4 separate regions of the Homo sapiens genome follow, and regions 1, 2 and 4 are each linked to region 3. The links are contacts of gene promoters, found by promoter capture Hi-C in blood cells and fetal thymus (Javierre and others, 2016). All regions are on one chromosome and are shown on one strand. Each heading gives the region's core, a stretch centred on a gene start or on the middle of the fragment in contact. The rest is flanking DNA. Distances are from core to core; before and after follow the strand shown.

What was found. Contacts are between HindIII fragments. The CHiCAGO score rates a contact against its expected background, and 5 or more counts as called.
Region 1: a contact is called between a fragment that was not itself captured here and the fragment with the promoter of TYW2 in region 3, in 1 of 17 cell types (M1 macrophages). The highest score is 5.8, in M1 macrophages.
Region 2: a fragment that was not itself captured here is called in contact with the fragment with the promoter of TYW2 in region 3 in 1 of 17 cell types (M1 macrophages); the score reaches 5.9 in M1 macrophages.
Region 4: a contact is called between a fragment that was not itself captured here and the fragment with the promoter of TYW2 in region 3, in 2 of 17 cell types (total B cells and non-activated CD4 T cells). The highest score is 5.9, in total B cells.

What each region holds. Positions count from the first base shown.
Region 1 is chr8:123,817,123-123,820,188 of GRCh38, reverse strand. No RefSeq gene overlaps it. Among named protein-coding and RNA genes, the nearest start is that of FER1L6, 33 kb to the left of the region's middle. The HindIII fragment of the contact is 972 bases long and covers 847-1,818 here.
Region 2 is chr8:123,791,775-123,794,647 of GRCh38, reverse strand. The region is part of intron 15 of FAM91A1 (family with sequence similarity 91 member A1); the gene reads right to left. Among named protein-coding and RNA genes, the nearest start is that of FAM91A1, 25 kb to the right of the region's middle. The HindIII fragment of the contact is 587 bases long and covers 1,084-1,670 here.
Region 3 is chr8:124,449,570-124,452,719 of GRCh38, reverse strand. TYW2 (tRNA wybutosine-synthesizing protein 2) reads right to left here and starts at 1,900. Exons shown (of 1, transcript NM_017956.4): 1 at 1-1,900. The coding sequence starts at 1,792. The coding sequence ends at 446. The HindIII fragment of the contact is 1,607 bases long and covers 1,120-2,726 here.
Region 4 is chr8:124,973,847-124,977,007 of GRCh38, reverse strand. ZNF572 (zinc finger protein 572) reads right to left here. Exons shown (of 3, transcript NM_152412.3): 2 at 1,289-1,402; 3 at 1-660. The coding sequence starts at 1,367. Among named protein-coding and RNA genes, the nearest start is that of ZNF572, 2.1 kb to the right of the region's middle. The HindIII fragment of the contact is 208 bases long and covers 1,447-1,654 here.

The sequences.
Region 1 (3,066 bases), core at 83-2,582, 630 kb after region 3:
GCAAAGGTCATATTCCCAGGGGGCATATCGTTGTATCAAAGAATATATAGTACACCTTAAATTCTGATATTGTCAAATTTCCTTCCCCAAAAAAGCTGTAATTTGCCCTCCAATTAATGTTGCATATGAAATCCATGCTTTCCAAGGTTGTCACCAGACCTAGGTATTAACAATCTTTTTCATTTTTGTCAGTCTGTCAGGTGGGAAACACTACCTCACAGTAGTTTTAATTTCTTTTATAAGTTATCGTTTTATGTTGGCCATTAATTATTTTCTATGAACTACCTATTCATGTATTTTTCCTATTTTTCTAGAGTCTGGCTTGTCTTTTTTACTTATAAGGGGTGTTTGTATAGTGAGTGTAGTGGACATAGAGATGTGCTCCTTAGATCTCTATTCAAGACCAGACTCACCATCCTGCAGCAACAAGGGTGGTTATCTGGCAACTTTCCACTGTTCATTCCTTCAGGGTTGGCTTCGGCTTTCCAGCCTGGGCCGGTCTTCTCAGGGTAGTTCCCAGCCAATGACTGAGCCAGAGGGAAGAGGATCCAAAGAGAGTAGTAACGAGATGGACACTCTATGTCCAAGCGGAAGACAGAGATGGCCAAGTGGAAGGTAGAGACAGCCCACAGGCATGCCCACCCTCTGATCCCCGATGCTCCATCAAGCACATCCACCACCCCAGTGCCAGTGGTTTCCTCTGAGAGTGGAGCTGCTGTCCCCCGAGGAAAGAGGAGGGAAGGAAGGTGGCGAGCCTATGCTTTCCTTAGGGAGCCCTGAGTGTCCAGAGCCCAGTCATTCTGCCCAGGACAGGACTCCCCTCACAGGCCATCCTAGTAGGAAGCTTATTGGTGTGGCAGGTCCACACCCTGGTCCCACGGCTCTCCCTGCAGACTCTGCTCCTTCCCTCTTCCTTCCCAGGCGCTACTCCCCAGCAAACCTCCCACACTCTTAACTCTGTCTCAACATTTGCTTCCTGGAGAACCCGACCCGTGACAGGAAGAAAATTAGTCCTTGTCATATCTAGAAAATATTTTATCTCAGGTTTAAGATTTTCTTCTGACTCAGTTTATAGAGTTCTGGCAGGCAGGAGGTTTCATTTTTATTTAGTAATAATTACCAGTTTTCTTTTAAATCTTCTGGGATTGGTGTCATCCTTTAAAAAGTCTTTATGCCAAATGTATGGAAAAAAAATCACCTGTTTCCACTTTTATGTTAATATTTTAAAATATTTAAACCTTGATCCCTCTTAAGTTTTTGGTATGAGGATTGAGGCAGAATTCCGCCCCCCTATATTTTTTCCAAATATCTGCCAGTTATCCCCAAATCAGTTACTAAATGATCCACGGACATTCCTGGATACTAATCTGAAATGCCACATTCAGATTCTTGTGTATTAAGTTCTATTTTTTAGTTTTCTGTCTGTATCTGAATAATCTGTCTGTATCTGAATTAGTACCATACTGTTTAATTACTTTAGGCTTATAATACATTTGATTACGCCTGCTGGGATAGATATTTTTAGATTTTTTTACCTTTAAGTCTCCACTGTTTCTTCTTCCAGGTTCAGCTTTAGAATCACTTTGCCAAGTTCCAAAATTTAAAGACGAAAACAAAACAAAACAAAAACTCACTGGTATTCTGAAGGAAATTGTGCTTAATTCATAATATATTTAGGGGGAATTGGTAACTTGACAATATTGAGGCTGCCTATCCAAGAACAGTTATGATTTTCCGTACATTCAGGTTTTCTTTTCTGTCCTTCAGGAGTGCTTTAAGGTGTTCCTCAAGGGTATCTTGCAAATTTCTCACTAAGCTTCTTGTCAGGTGCTGTGATCCGACTGTGTCCCCCCAAAATTCATATGTTGAAACTGTAACCCTCAACTTGATGGTATTAGGAGGTGGGGCCTTCAGAAGGTGATTAGGTCATGAGGGCAGAGCTCTAATGAGTGAGATGGGTGCTCTTAGGAAAGAGGCTTGAGGGAGCTCATTTGACCCCTCCACCCCGTGAGGACACATTGAGGAGATGGCCACCTATGAACTGGGAAACAGGACCCTCTTGTTTCAGACTCTGCCAGAGCCTTGACCATGGACTTCCTAGCCTCCAGAACTGTGAGAGAGAAATGTTTGTTGCTTCTAAGCAGCTGTGGACTTTTGTCTACCTGAACTAAACTGAACAAACTAAGACATCCAGTATTTCACTTTATTTTATATTTATGCATGGGTACATATTTATTGAGGTTTTTGTTCTTAGTATTAAGAAAGATCTTTTACTTTATATTTATACATAATTTTTGCTACTAAGGTAGCTCTTTTCTTTCCTTATATCAATATAACTGGTTGTTGATTACAGATAAGAAAGCTACTTACTGAAGTCTGTTTCTAATGTTTCAGGTAACTTTTGCATCTTCCTAGTATATAAGTATCTGAAAAATTATAATTTTTCCCCATCCTTTTAAATGTGACTACCTCTTATTCTTTTGCCTAATTTCATTAGCTACTAATTCCAATGTTACATGCCTAATAATGGTTTGGTGGGGATACTTGTGCTGTTTATGTCCTGGGAGACTATTGCTTCCAGAAATTCAGAGTTAAAAATGATTCTGCATTGTTTATAGAATAAACTATGTGGTATCCAAGTTTTGCCTTAAAATAATCTAGTGGTGGGGGAAATAGTATCGTTGTGTGTGTGTGTATATTTACACACACACATATATACATATATAAGTGGTCTTTGTTTTGTATATATGCAATGAGGGGCTAAACATGAATCACTGTGGAAACTGGGTGATGGGTGCATGAAGCTTCACTATACTATTCTCCCTTCTTTTGTATATGTTCCCTAACAAAAAGAAATAAAAACATAATGAGGCTGGGAGGATTTCTGCTTTGAAAATGTTTAAGAACTTTCTGCTCTTCTCCTCTTGGCAACCACCCACTAAAACCACAAGGAGAATGAGAAACAGAAACAATCAGTGATAAAACTATGAGGGGTTTGTAACCCAAACCACAGGACACGAAGACAGAAAGCAGATACTTGGAACTGGAAGATGGCTTTGCAGAGCA
Region 2 (2,873 bases), core at 128-2,627, 660 kb after region 3:
AACGTAAAGACAAATTGCTCACTCAGAGATGATCAGCGTCACAGGGCATTTTAAGCAGGTACTCAAGTAGATACAACACTTGAGCTCACCACAATAGCAACAAGAGATACCTACAAAATTATTACAGTAGTACCATATGTACTACAGGTAATTCTATGCAGTTATAGCTTAATACTATATCTTTCCATTTATTTACATTTCTCTCAACTGCAATGTCACTGTGTGATCTGTAAATGTGTGCATTAAGTTTTGATATGTTTGAATGTTTTATAATGGATCTGTATATATTTTATGATAATAAATGATAAAATAGACTAGTATCTACATATATTTTATGCATACATGACCTATGTAACTTTTCCTTAACTTCTTTGACATTTCTAGGCTATGAGATTTGTCTGCAAGTTTTTTCAAGTTGTCACAAATTTCCAAAAAAATGTTCCAAAACGTTTACTCATAAAAATTATCCCATAAGTGGACCTGTGCAATTCATAGCCACGTTGTTCACTTGTCAACTGTATAACGAAAGCCAAAGTGTCAGGAGAAGCTATGTGCTTCTCTCCTCCAGTTTCCGATCTCTACAAAGAGAATCATAGCCAAGTCCTCATTTTAGTATAAGGGCAAGAGCTCCTCATTTGGAAATGTGTACCCTAGATTTCTGGTCCGTAGAGCATGAACTCACTCAACATACAACAGATTTTAAGCATTCTTATTCTTAATCCTTTTGAACAATACGAAATCCTATTGCTCTCTAAAAAGAGATATTTAACGTTAAAAGAAACTTCAGAAGAGCAAGGTAGCTATATCCTCCTTCAAGCAAGAATACATCTAAAAATATACATATATACATATAATGGCCTCCTGAAAATGCCTAGAAGCAATGAGCACAACTAACACCAGTATCTTGGTCTCTAATAGCAATCCCCAGTAAAAGACATTAGGCTCCTAGGACAAATGGCTGATTCCAGGACTGAGGCAGAATAAATACACAATAAGATGCTATTGCTTGGCCAGAAAGTAAAGAATTGCTTAGCGGAGAAACCTGGAGGCATGTCATAAGGAGAAAGGAGACAGGAGCAAGCTTAAAGGAAATCCTCATGGCAAAATCTGAGAAAACTGGGGCACGAAAATAATTGAGAGACAATAATGACTAATCGCAGACTACTGAAAAGATAAGAATTCATAAATTCATACAGAGAATACGAGAGAATGCCTGGTCACAACTGCTAAATATGGCAGAACTGCTCAAGTGGGGGAAAAATTACCAATTTCCAACCATCAAAGTACAGAATGGTTCAGGCAAGAACCACCAATGGATTCTAAATCTAGGAGGAAACACTGATGAGGAGTGGGATATCTGCATGGTCTCAAAGTATCTCCCCACCAATTGCTTATCAGTTGTGAGAGAAAAAAAATAGTTGACTATACAGTGGAAAAATCAGACAATGCATTAACTGGGTGATCAAAATTAACATCACCAATGAAGGGTAGATGGAAAGCATGGGGTGTGAGGAAGTAGGATGACAGGGTGAGGTATAGGATAGCAGATCACAGAATGTTTAACCATAACGTCAGCATATTTTCTGGGAGGGGTCCTAAAGGAAGGGCTACATCCTGGCTTAGGTTGAGGGTGAGTCAAAGTTCATGGGGCTGGAAGAAGGAGAGAAGCTTAAACAAGCTTTGGCTAACAAGCATTTTGTTCTGATTGATAATTCAGAACAGGCAGTTCAACTCACTGCTTATGAGGCAAAGAAAGGGAATTTGGTGGATCTGTTTCTGACCTTGTCATAGGTGAACAGAAGGGAGTGGGGAATTCACCTGTGAATCTTATCTAAGTCATACGGGGAAAAAGTGGGTCCTTGCACTAAGCCCCTTCCCAAAACACAAAAGAGTGAAGGGACGTCTTAACCCTCAGGCAAAATTCAACATTATCAATGTCAAGTATAGATAATATTTAATGTATACTACAACAGGGAAAGTAGGAAGTCTAAAGAGTTCATGGTGGTTAGAACACGTTTCTAATAGCTTGACAACTGTGATTGCTTTCCTACAAATGTGGTTTAATTCCTAAACATTTCCACAGTACTAGAATGCCAAATTATAAACAGTGGTTTTTATGTCTGACTTATACTAATCACAGTTAAACAATGTCCTTTTAAAGACAAAGATACCTGGGGGAAAAAAATCATGCTTAGAAAACGAGAAAAAAACAGACCACGCATGACTTTTATTTATAAACAGTACGCCGTGCTATTTAAAACCAAGGGATTAAGGACTCCTAGGACTAAGACACTAGTTCCATGTATAACAGAGTTTGCTTGTATAATATCACAATGCTTTTGCTTTATAGTAGATAACAAGTACTACATGATATACTCAAAGTATAAATTATTAGTGACATAAAAAGAAAATTCTTTTTCCTCAAACAAGACGCTTAAAACACCAATACTAGAGGATTTCTTTTTTTTCTTCTGAGACGGAGTCTCAGTCTGTCACCCAGGCTGGAGTGCAGTGGTGTCATTTCAGCTCACTGCAACCTCAGCCTCCCAGGTTCAAGCAATTCTCCTGCCTCAGCCTCCCGAGCAGCTAAGATTACAGGTGCCTGCCACCACACTTGGCTAATTTTTATATCTTTAGTAAACACGAGTTTTCACCATGTTGGCCATGCTGGTGTTGAACTCCTGACCTCAAGTGAACCGCCTGCCTCGAGCTCCCAAAGTGCTGGGAATACAGGCATGAGCCACCACACCCGGCAGAGAATTTCTTTTCTAAAAAAGAGTAAGGTTCAGTTACCAAGCCCAGTAACTGCAGAAAGCAACATTTCTCAACAGGCTGAGCATGAAGCCTTAATGCCCTAAGATATCCTCTACATA
Region 3 (3,150 bases), core at 651-3,150:
TCAGTCAATTTTCTATATGGTAGCCAGAGCAATTTGGAAAAAGCACTGTGTCTTTCACTCTAAAATAACCGATGTCCTGTGTATAGTTGCTTAATAGTCACGTGAGACAGTTCAAAGAAACTCTCATTTTGCAAATAACGAAACCCGAGGCCAAAACATACTGAAACTTCAATTCCAGAACTGAGGTCAGAATTTGGAATTCATAATTGCACAGATGAGCCTCATTTCAATGGGCCATGCTGCTTCTCCCAAACAGGTATTTCATTTTCTGTTATCAATGAAAGACAAATGAAATAATTTGAATTGATCTAGAGCCTGCTTTCAGGGCTATAAAATATGAAAAAAACTGATCACCAGGGGACAAAAGGGATGACAACCTGGACTGAACTGATACATTTAAGGGCCACTCGCACGTGGATCCCATGTGTCCCAGGATCTACCTCCTCTAGCCAACTGAAGGACAGGGGCAGCATTCCAGATCCAGGACTATGTGATCCACATGGGGAGCATAGGATTTCACTGGTTGGATGTGCAGAATTTGTGTCTTCCATGGTTTCCCATGCACCTGCTGAAGAAGAGTGGCGATTCGAGTTTCTGCAGATTCTGCCCACCTTTGCCACTCTGGCTTGGTGGCTGGTGACAGCATTTTTCCCCTAGAATCCCTGGTAGCTCCATTTTTCCATTGGTTGGTGGTAATTTGCTGAGGATACAGCCAATGCTCTTTCTCTACTTTGCTGACTCCAAGAGCCTGAAGATTCTTCCCTGGGAAAGATTCCACATTTTGGTGGATATGCAAAATGCCTCCAGCATCCTGCCTTAACACTTGGCAGGCAATGGGCCAGCCTTCTTCAGAGCTGGGAATCAGCCCCAGGATCACCCTATCTGCAATATTTGAGAGCTTCAGTTTTCTGTTATCTCCAAAGTGTATTTGGCACCGATCTGCTACTCCATTGATCTCAAGGTTATTTCTCAGAGCAACTACAGCATGGGGATTCCACTCACAAGCATGGACGAAGGCAGCACCAGCATGAACTAGGAAAGGCAATGTAAAATAACCAATCCCTGCATAGAGATCCACCAGCACTTCTCCAGCACAGGACAACGATGCCACTCGAAGCTTCTCAGTGATGTTTCCAAAGGAGAACATACACTGGGTCACGTCAAACTTATAACGGATACCATTATCCACATGCTCTACCCAGCCATGGTCACCCAGCAGCAGTGTCACTGCTGGAGTTCGAGTACCATCCGGTGATACCCGCCCTCGTTTTGCCAAACGCTGGACGCCAAGTGCCAAGGCAACGGTCTCCCAGAGTTCCGGTCCCAGATTTTTCCACTGCTTGGCTTGGAAACAGTCTTCACTCAGCAACAAGAGATTACCATGCCGTTGCCATGATCGGGGCAAATCAGCCTCCAACTCGGCTGACCACTTGACTCCCCGACCCTCCACCCAGCGACTCACCTCAAGACACAATTTTTGGGCAGGTGAACAACCCTGGGCCCTCTTCGAAGGAACAGGATCCGGGAGCTGCGTGAGCATACAGGGACTGCCTGGGGCAACACGATTCCTCAGCTCCTGCAGGTGCTGCTCTGGAAGCGTCTCTCCCAGCACCGGTAGCGCCACCGAGCCATCCGGCATCTTTTCCACACGGTGCTGTGTATCAAAGAGTTTCTGCCTCTGGAGATATTCTCTGTATCGCTGGGTAAACCAAGGCTCAGTCACAACTGCGACAACAGCCACGGGCTTCCCACTTTCTCTCTCCATGTTGCTAACAACCACATTCTCTCTCATCACCTCAGCGATACTCCATCTCCTCAGAGTCGGCTCACCAGGCTGACTAAATTCCCGGTCTTAAATAAGGTAGCCTGCAGCTCACCCGGCCATGCCGGTGCCGGAAATGACGTGCAAAGAGGCCGGAACTAAATATATTGATGCGCTTGCTTGAGAATGGCGTTGCCGTTGCTGTGGAGAAGCTGCGGCCGCCATCTTTTTTATGGTCAACCATTACTTTTTTTTCAGCCTAGGAAGACATTTATAACAGGGAATCTTATGGACTAAAAGACTTCAAATTGCTATTTTCCAGAAACCTCATGCACTCTCTTCAGTGCTGCTCATGAATTCAAAGAGAAAAATTAACATGAAATTGTCAGAGGCGCATGAACCAGAGCAACTCCATCTTAAATAGGAGCTGGGTAAAATGAGGCTGAAACCTACTGGGCTGCATTCCTAGACGGTTAAGGCACTCTAAGTCGCCAGATGAGATAGGAAGTCAGCATAAAATACAGGTCAAAAAGACCTTGCTGATAAAACAGGTTGCAGTGAAGGAGCGGCCAAAATCCACCAAAACTAAAATGGCCACGAGAGTGACCTCTGGTGGTGCTCACTGCTACACTCCCACCAGCGCCATGACAGTTTACAAATGCCATGGCAACGTCAGGAAGTTACCCTATATGGTCTAAAAAGGGGAGGCATGAATAATCCACCCCTCGTTTAGCATATCATCTGGAAATAACCATAAAAATGGGCAACCAGCAGCCCTCATGGCTGCTCTGTCTATGGAATAGCCATTCTTTTATTCCTTTACTTTCTTAATAAACTTGCTTTCACTTTGCACTGCGGACTTGCCCTGAATTCTTTCTTGCATGAGATCCAAGAACCCCATGTTGTAGTCTGCATTGGGACCCCTTTCCTGTAACAAAATGATGATCTGAATTTGGAGAAAGCTTTCCCATAGCCTAATGCTGCTCTCAGGTTAGCATCAGCAGCCACCTTATTTTCTGAAAGTGAAGAGTCAGATACAGCTCCCTTTTTCCCTTTTCATGCAGATATAGTCATCACTGTTTCATTGTCCTTTGGTCCAAGAAACAACTATTTGAAAGTCAGAAGGATCTGAGTTCCAGTAAATCGTATCACCCCTCAAAATTGGAATCTTCACTTATAAAATGGAATCTAATCTTCAGAAGATTGCTATAGTGAGTAGAGACATTATAGTGTCTTAGACAATAACTAGTAAAGAGTAGATACTTAAAAAGATACAAAGTAACAAGTTGGCTAGCTCACAGGTACTAAATACCTGTTGAAATGCTTTGATATTCCTAAAGAAGACAAAGGGGAATTCCATATAGACTAAATCAAATAGTTGGATATAA
Region 4 (3,161 bases), core at 301-2,800, 520 kb before region 3:
AACATTCATATGGTTTTTCACCTGTATGTGATCTGTGATGCTGAATAAGGTGAGAGCTGCTGCTGAATCTCTTCCCACACTCGGGACATTTGTAGGGTTTCTCTCCCGTGTGAGTTCTCTCATGGATAATAAGATGGGAGGTATTGCTGAAGCTTTTCCCACATTCACCACACTGGTAGGGCTTCTCTCCTGTGTGCATTCTTAGATGCTGAATCAGGTGAGAACTGTTACAAAAACATTTTGCACACTCAGAGCATTTATAAGGCTTTTCTCCTGAGTGGGTCCTCTGGTGAGTACGCAAATGAGAACTATTACTGAAGCTTTTCCAACATTCGGAACATTTATAGGGTCTGTCTACAAAGGATGAATTCTGCTGGACACAGGCATTGGTATGTTCTCCTGAGTCCCATTCCTGGTGATTGGGTTTTTCCTCCTCTTTAGCTATAAAATTTCCCCAATTCTCTGACTTGCCATCACTCTCATAGGAATCATGACACCAAATCTCATCTTGAACCCATGTCAGTGGCATTTCTTTTGCATCCTCATGCTTATAATGTTGTGGTCTATGTCTTTTAGACCATTCTGAAGGTTTCTCTTTAAGTTTATCTGCCTTAGAATTATTGTGGTGAACAGTTTCCAAATTATTCATACTTGTATCTCCTGCAAGAATAAACAAATATTCTAACCATATTCCAAATCTCTGCCAGAGAAGTAAATTCTAAATTGCAGTGGAAGAGAGGAAATAACACTGTAAAACCTCATAAATAATTTCATATAAAAAAGTTTTTAAAGACAGTTTTACTTCTTTTCCTCTGTTTACCAGAAGCAGGTGGATTTTTTTTTGTACCTAGCAACAACAATAATGAATTATTTGAATCATTATTGGCAAAGGGAACATCAATCTAAAAATAAATGCATTAGGTTTTGTTCTAGAAGACTTAAGAGAAAAAACAGGATTGATGTGAATAGAAGTTAAATTGAACAGGATACCATCTCAGGTAAAAACTAGACAATAGCTTTGCTAAAATCTGAGCAAATGCTATAGAAATAACAATAGCCACTATTTATTAAGAACAGTAGCTTTGGATACGGTATCTCACTAATTCTAAAATATATGTGAAATAGATATTATTCATTTTCTTAAAGATGAGAACAATGAGGCTGAAATAATTAACACAGCTTATAAGTGACAGAACAAGGAATTAAATTAAGGTTTGTCTCATTCTAGTGTCCTGTTCTTTCTACATCAAATTTCCTAAGGATTCAGATCATCGTCTTGATCCCTCACCTGTGAAAGGGCTTTTCAAACTCTCCCTCTCCATAAAGCTGTTAGAATCTGAGACCAACAGTTTTTTTTCTTGCTCCATCACAATGATCACAGCCAAGTTAGAGATCAGAAACCCTGTGGAAGGAAATAAATTATGTTTGGAGGTATTTGTTAAAGCTTATTCTTCCTCCTTCCTTCCCAACCATTCCAACACAACAATAGGAGGCATAGAATGTTCCATGAACCATACCGAAAATAAGAAACACAACTTTTAGCAGCCCTTTTAGAAAATCTTATCTCAGATCTAAGTGTTTAGAATTAAGGGTTAACCCTGAAATAACAATGCAAAAAAGTAAATCTTCACATTAAAGGTCTGAGGATCAAGCTTCAAAGACAGAATACTAATCCTCATTGTCCACACGTAGCTTAGAAACACTTTTACTTTAAAAAGCAAAGTATTTTTTTTAAGACACCAATAATAAAACTTATAAAGACTTCAAGGAATCAATATGAAGGCATAAGCAGCAGCTAAAGAAAAAAAGCACCCTGTTTAGTTTCAAAAGAATAACTTGGTCTTGACAGAAGGAAACCTTTGAAGTCAATTTCAAAGGAAAGTTAGGATTTATATAACCAGTAAAGAGAAATTAGGACAAAGCCGAGGTGGAATAATTATAGCCAATAACCCTGCAATATAAAAAGGAGGCTAAAGAGGGACCTCTTCCTCCTTGCACTTAGTTCCTAAGTCTATCATATTCACAATATCCATTTCAGCCTAAACTTCGTCTTCTGGAGCCAACAATCACTAACCTATTTTAAGGGACTAGAAAATGTTCCATCCTGGCTAATGCGGTGAAACCCCATCTCTACTAAAAATACAAAAAATTAGCCGGGTGTGGTGGCGGGCGCCTGTGGTCCCAGCTACTCAGGGGGCTGAGGCAGGAGAATCGCTTGAACCCAGGAGGCAGAGGTTGCAGTGAGCCGAGATCGTGCCATTGCACCACTCCAGCCTGGGTGACAGAGCAAGACTCTGTCTCAACAAAAAAAAAGAAAAAAGAAAAAGAAAAAGAAGAAAATGTGATCTATCACAGGAAGGCAGTGACATATGGACTTTTGGCATCCATTTCAGAATATAAAGAGTATCATTATTTGGGAGAAAAATAAGGACGTAAAAGGATATACAAATGCACACATTTTAAAAACAAAAAATAGTATATGTACTTATATTGTATCTTCACCATTACTGCCTATTATGTGCCAGGTAGTGAATGAAATAATTTGCACACATTTGTCATTTAATTCTTACAGTAGCCCTCTGAAGTGTATGAACAACTACCAGCATTTTATAGGATGAGTTTGAAAGGTATTAAGAAACTTTCCTAAGGTCACCTAGAAAGTGGTAGAGCAGGACTGAGCTCCAAGTCTGTTTGGATGCTGACCTTTTTCACCCTCTGATCTATTATCGTAAACTAGAACAGGAAGCAGAGCTGGGCATAATCCCAAACTGCAAAGAATCCTCAGAGTCCCTTTATTTTAGAATATTTAGAATACTGGCATTTTAAAACAGAGGTCTACATTCCTAAACCTTGTTAACAAAGTGAGTCGACATTCCCTAAGCACACTCAGCAAGTGGGGATTTGTTCTAGAGAAACGTGAAACTAGTCTACATTACTAATATCCCCAGTGTTTGAGTTGGGGGGGAGAAAAAACCATACACCTGAATGCAAAAAAAGGAAGGGGGTGGAGTTGTTCGAATGGAGTTATATATTTTGCTGTCCTAAGTTACATATTGTTATCAAAGTATTTACAAAAGCAGCAAGAGTCTGGGCAACACATTACCATCTCCCCCATTTTCCCTACTAAAATACTATTAAATTTGGCAGCAAAGGAGCCCCCG